Linked DNA regions of Homo sapiens: region 2 is linked to region 1. Evidence: promoter capture Hi-C in 16 types of primary human blood cells and fetal thymus (Javierre and others, 2016). All regions are on one chromosome and are shown on one strand. The core of a region is centred on a gene start or on the middle of the fragment in contact, and the rest is flanking DNA. Distances in the headings are between cores, read along the strand shown.

Region 1 (3,151 bases), core at 599-3,098:
GAAAGAGGGGGTGCTTTTTTTTTAAGTCCGGAAAAAGGAATGCAACCTATTTCTTGCAAGGGCATATGAGTGGATCTCATATTCTCACACATGGCTTTGTTTTCAAATTCTTCAAAGTGCAGAAATTCTTTTAATTTAAAGGTGAGCCCATGGAAAATCTGGACCAGCTGTAGAAAACCATCCAAGAACTCAGTGCCACAGCCACTTTTTTGGTTGTGACACAAACCCCAGGGTGATCTGACCCTCTGCTCACCAGTGTTGTAAATTATCCAAGAGAGGTACTTCTGTTCCCACTGCTGCCTCCATGGAATTCATTGTCTCATTAGCTGATACTGCCTAGAGGATGTTAGAGAGGAACTCAGGCAGCCTTGAGACTCAAGAGAGACTCCAGGCTGTCGAAAGAAGGAAGACTCACAAAGCGTCTAAATTCAGACCCTTTACACTGGAGAGGAAGACTTGGGAAACAGCCACATCTCACTGTTTGAGGGACCTGGAAAAACAGATCATCGTGACTTTCTTCAAGGTCACGCAAAGTTTAAGTGATTTTTACTGTCCCACATTCCAGCATGTCCTCTTCTATGCATTCATTTCCCATGGTAGTTCATCATTCTCTATTTATGGCATTTTTATTAGGTAACAGTATCTCATCTCTTCCCGATAATTGTGCTGCTGCATATTTTTAGAAACTTTTCCACCCGCCATTGTCAGGGACTGAGGAGTTGCATTAATGTTGAGTTTGAAAATTCTGTTCTTGCATCAGGCAGGTAAAAGTGGCCTTATTAGTATTTCTGTTTTCAATGTCTGGAGAAAAGTCCCAGGGAGAGAAAAACAAGATAAAGCATCATGTTGTCCACTGGTAAAATCTGTACGTGGAAAGTAGGCTAAGCTAGAGTAATCGGTTTAAGGTAGCAGTTAATAGTGTCTGCAGCTCTTTACTTCGTTAACCTCAGTTAACCAGGACCTGGCACAATGGGGATTGAAATCAGGGGGCTTATCCACAGTTTCCTCAAATACTGATTTTATCAAGTTGGGCTGATAATTCCATAAACTGTATGAGCATTGATAGTTAGATGTGATCGTTTTCAGAGTGATTCTTTTTCTGCTTGGGTTTATTTATTTATTTATTTTGAGACAGAATCTCACTGTGTTGTCCAGGCTGGAGTGCAGTGGCGCAATCTCGGCTCACTGCAACCTCCGCCTCCCGGGTTCAAGCGATTCTCCTGCCTCAGCCTCCCAAGTAGATGGGATTACAAGCATGCACCACCACAATCGACTAATTTTTGTGTTTCACCATGCCGGCCAGGCTGGCCTCCAACTCCTGACCTCAAGTGATCGGCCCCCCTCGGCCTCCCAAAGTGTTGAGATTACAGGCGTGAGCCACCACACCCGGCTCCGCTTAGTTTTTGCCAGTAGTTTTGCAGGGATGGTGTGTCTCCCCGCCTCTACCTCCTCCTCCTGTTTTGAAAAAGAGAATAAACGTATTGGAACAGCCCAGGAGATTGCCTGAGTTTTGCTGGCAGCCTCTGAAGCAGCCCACAGTATTTCTACCTTCCCCGGCAAGAACAGTGGCTTTGTTCTGTCCGCGCCGGAGGGGCCGGGCGTCTGCGGAGCTCGGCCTTGGACTTGGGAGCGGCTTTCTCTGGCTCTCCGGAGAAATGGGCAAGAGCGGCGAGGAGAGAAATCTGGGGCCCGGAGGATGTTCTCACCTGTCATTCCTAAGATGCGCTTGAGTGCTGCCCCCTGGAGGCGTCTGTGCCACCGGCTGGAAGTCAGCCGAGGGCACAGGGTGTCAGCAACCTCCAGGGTGGAAACCAACCCCGCGGCCCGGGCCTGCAGGTGACGCAGGGTGGGCGGGGCCTGCAGACGCCGGGTGGGCGGGGCCTGCAGGTGACGCCGGGTGGGCGGGGCCTGCAGACGCCGGGTGGGCGGGGCCTGCAGGTGACGCCGGGTGGGCGGGGCCTGCAGACGCCGGGTGGGCGGGGCCTGCAGGTGACGCCGGGTGGGCGGGGCCTGCAGACGCCGGGTGGGCGGGACCTGCAGGTGACGCCGGGTGGGCGGGGCCTGCAGAGGACCTGCGCGTCCGGATCTGAAGCGAGCAGAGCCCTCTCTACTCCAGCTGAACGGTGATGGTCGTCAGGAAGGAATGTGGGCTCACTGTGGAAAGAACATTCAGTTTTTCAAAAGAAGACAGAAATAGGGATGCTTATGTGAAATTCCTGATTTTTCAAACTTGGCAACTTAATTCAGTTAAAAAAAAAAAAGCATTTCTATGGCAGGACCACGAGTCATAGGTAGAACGCCTTGTACACATTAGAAAGAGAGCCTCGCTCTGGGCAGATAAAGCAGGAGGGGAAAAAAGTAGTGGGTCAAAGGTGCCTCTGAGCAGTTGCTCCCCTGCCCGACTGCTGGGCTTAATGCGATGGTCATGGCTGGATGTCAGCCTCCCTGTGGGGACACTGACACAGCTGCAGCAGCCCTGAGAGAGTCGCCAAGTGGGCCTGCCCATGCCAGGTGCTGTCCTTGGGCCCCAGGTTCACAAACTCTGGATGCTGGAACAGGTAGCCAGAGAGGGCAGGAAAGGCAGTGCAACTTGCAAGTCTACCCTTGTTAAAGGGCCCTACAATTGTAAAATTTCATGCCCCCCATATCCCAAACATCCTCTCCGTATTCCTGGATGATGAACGTTGGCTTGGGAGGCATGTTTACTCTAGGCAATATTTTTCTGAGGTTATTATACTCTGTGTGTGAGGAAGATTCATCTATGTATCCACTTTATCTTTTGGGAGTACATTTCACCTGTTGTTATTTTTAACATCTTCCCTTGATTGACCTGCTCGTGCTGGACCTCTTTAAATTATTTCTAATTCTGACAACATCCTGACAAGGTAATATAATTCCACTTACTTTACAAATAAAGACACTGAGGCTTCAAGAAGTAATTTTTCCCCAGACCAGCTAGGAAATGGCTGTGCAGAGCTTCAAACCCAGGTCTGTCTTACTAGGAGGCTGATGACTTTGATACTTCTACCTGAGATGGCAAAGTCTGTGTCTCTTCTCCCTGACGTCATCTAATGAAGATCTATGCTGTCTGAGCACTTAATGCCTAAGAATCTTCCATTTGGTGCCTTCCCCTTTCCCCTTTTTATATCTT
Region 2 (2,782 bases), core at 169-2,668, 2.0 Mb before region 1:
TTATTTTTATTTTATTTTATTTTTTTTGAGACAGAGTTTCGCTGTTGTCGCCCAGGCTGGAGTGCAATGGTATGATTTCGGCTCATTGAAACCTTCACCTCCTGGGTTCAGGTGATTCTTCTGCCTTAGCCTCCTGAGTAGCTGGGATTACAGGTGTCTGCCACCACACCCGGCTAATTTTTTTTTTTTTTTTTTTTTTTTTAGTAGAGATGGGGTTTCACTATGTTGGCCAGGCTAGTCTCAAACTTCTGTCCTCAGGTGATACACTTGCCTCGGCCTCCCAAAGTGTTGGGATTACAGACATAAGCCACCACACCCAGCCCTATTTGTTTTAAGAAATACTTATTGATTGTCCCTGACATACAGTTGTCACATGCTAGAGCTGGATTCCAATGTTTGTTGCATTTGGCCATTAGGAAGTCATTTACTTTTTTCAGAGTAGGCATAGTGGTAAAAGTCTCATTGGAGTCAACTAAGGAATAAAATAAAGGAGATAAAGTAGGATTTGCATACAAGTCCTTAGCTTAGTTGTAGATAGAAGGTGATGGAATTGAGGGAATTTCTCTTCTGTATTCTCTGTCCTCTTCTTTCTCCTCTCCTCCCCTCCACACCTTTTCCTCTCCTCTTCTTACTCTCTCCTCCCTCTCTCCTCCTTTTCTCATCTTCTTTTCAAATGAGATAGGATAATCATATTTGTAGGTTGATGGTAAAGAACTACTAGAGAAGTTGAAAATAGAGAAGGAGGGGATAATTGGTATTACAAGATACTAGCATATGGGACTAAGAGAATACAACCGGAGGGATAAGCTTTAATAGGTGAAATCATGCCATTTCCTTTAAGAGGAAATGTATGGAAATAGATAAGTAAAGGTATATAAAGGAGAGGGGTTAGGGTTGGGTAGTTGAGGGAGGTTGGCGGCCTTTAGTTTTACTGATGTATGAGTTAACTTTACCTGCTAAGAGAGAGTTTGGTCAAGGGATCTGAAGAGTGGTGAGGGTTTGTGGTACTTGACCAAGGATGAGTAAAAGAATTGATGAGTACTTTAAGATCCTGATAATGGATTTTATAAACTTTTAATACCCAGTTCTTCCGCATTTTCTTCATCTGATTTTCCCTATACAAACAAGTGGAATAAAATTGTGATACTGATTTAAGATGGGAGGTTTGCAGGAACTGTGAGGTTGAAGGGTAAAGGGAGGATGGGAACTGAGAGTGCTAGTGAGAAGACAATGAAACGATTGGCGGTCCACGGGGAAGAAGAGCAAGTGTAATCAGGAATAAGCTGCTAGATAAGCTCAAAGAGTAGGTGAGGCATAGCATGTTATTGCCAGAGATTGATGTTTATGGTTTCAGAGAAGGAGCAAGTGTGAGTGATGACAGGGTCCAGGTTATGGCATTGGAGTGGATTATGGAAGTGGGATGAAGGCAGTTGTATTTGTTTAGGTGAAGAATAGTTGAAGTATATACATTATATGGATTGTGCTTTGAAATTGTTCAGAATAGTGGCCAGTTTTGTGTTGGTGAGGTAGTGGGATCTCAGAGCTTAAGTCCTTATTGAATATGTTGAGGATGAAATGGATTCAGTGAGGAACAGTAGAGGTTAACATAGCTGGATAGCATACCTCTCAAAGAGAACAGGGTTTTTTTTTGCAAAGGTGGATGAGTTATAGCCTAGAAGCAGCAATGGGGGAGCCAGGAGAATAATGACTTCTCCCCTTCCACTGAATGTTGGAGAAGGGGCCATATTCATTTGATTGAGTATTGTAGAGCAAGTAGTATTTTTGCAGGACAAACTAGCCATTATACTCTATGGCCAGGAGGTACAAGATTATAGATTTTGTTTTACAAAATGAAAATATGAGGGCTTTAGAGAACCCAGTGGAATTGACTGAGAAGGCAAAAAGCAAGATGATAGATTAGGGGTTGCAAATGCAGTGGGGTGGAGATGAGGATAGGTGAGATGACTCCCTGTGAAGGAGTCAGCATTTTGTGCAGGGTTTGAGGATTCTAGGGCTAGGAGAAGCTTCATTGGAATAGATTGGCTTTAGCATTACCAATTTTGCAACACTGATTTGGTGCCAGGTAAGGCTTGTATGGTTTGACTTAGGTTATTGAGAGACTCGTTTCAAGACTCACTGTGACAGGGCTCCTGTGTAACGTAGAGTATGGGATCTAAACAACAATATTTGCTTAATTTTGAATTGGAGAAAAAAATATTGTTAATAGTAAAATTACTGAAATGTAATGCATTTAGAAGTGACTAAAAAAAAATACAGCCTGACGATTTTAAACTAGTTAAAAAAAAGGTGATTTTTGTCTTGTGTGTAATAATATGTCCACTGGGTGTCACTGTGGCTTTATATTTTGCTACACAAATAAATAGCAGTAAGAGCTTTGCATTTGTGGAGTCTGTGTTATGCATGTCTTATCCCTGCTTAGTTTTCTTCTTTTGCAGTGAATTTTGCTCATCCTTTTTTCCGTTTATTTTTAGGTACAGTTATTTGTCACCCCTGCAAATACAGCAAATACCTATCCCTAAATTGGCTGCTCCAAACTGTCTTCTTGTTACTTGGGTGACCAATAGACAGAAGCACCTACGTTTTATAAAGGAAGAACTTTATCCCTCTTGGTCTGTGGAGGTAGTTGCTGAGTGGCACTGGGTAAAAGTAAGTTCAGAAGTTAGCTTATTTGTTAATACAGCTTGATAGAAGTCACATAAAGGTAGCATCTACTTTGTAATGCTCAACATGTCACTGCTGTACTCCTTCAACATGGGCTAAT

Evidence for each region. The method cuts DNA at HindIII sites, captures the fragments that hold promoters and counts their contacts. A CHiCAGO score of 5 or more calls a contact.
Region 2: a fragment that was not itself captured here is called in contact with the fragment with the promoter of CLUL1 in region 1 in 1 of 17 cell types (total CD4 T cells); the score reaches 6.2 in total CD4 T cells.

The regions. Positions count from the first base shown.
Region 1 is chr18:595,685-598,835 of GRCh38, reverse strand. CLUL1 (clusterin like 1) reads right to left here and starts at 1,848. Exons shown (of 10, transcript NM_001393344.1): 1 at 1,707-1,848. RefSeq lists an enhancer at 868-1,367 and silencers at 1,790-1,909, 1,970-2,099. The HindIII fragment of the contact is 7,229 bases long and covers 1-3,151 here.
Region 2 is chr18:2,547,240-2,550,021 of GRCh38, reverse strand. It overlaps METTL4 (methyltransferase 4, N6-adenosine), which reads left to right. Exons shown (of 9, transcript NM_022840.5): 6 at 2,493-2,667. Among named protein-coding and RNA genes, the nearest start is that of METTL4, 23 kb to the left of the region's middle. The HindIII fragment of the contact is 1,217 bases long and covers 810-2,026 here.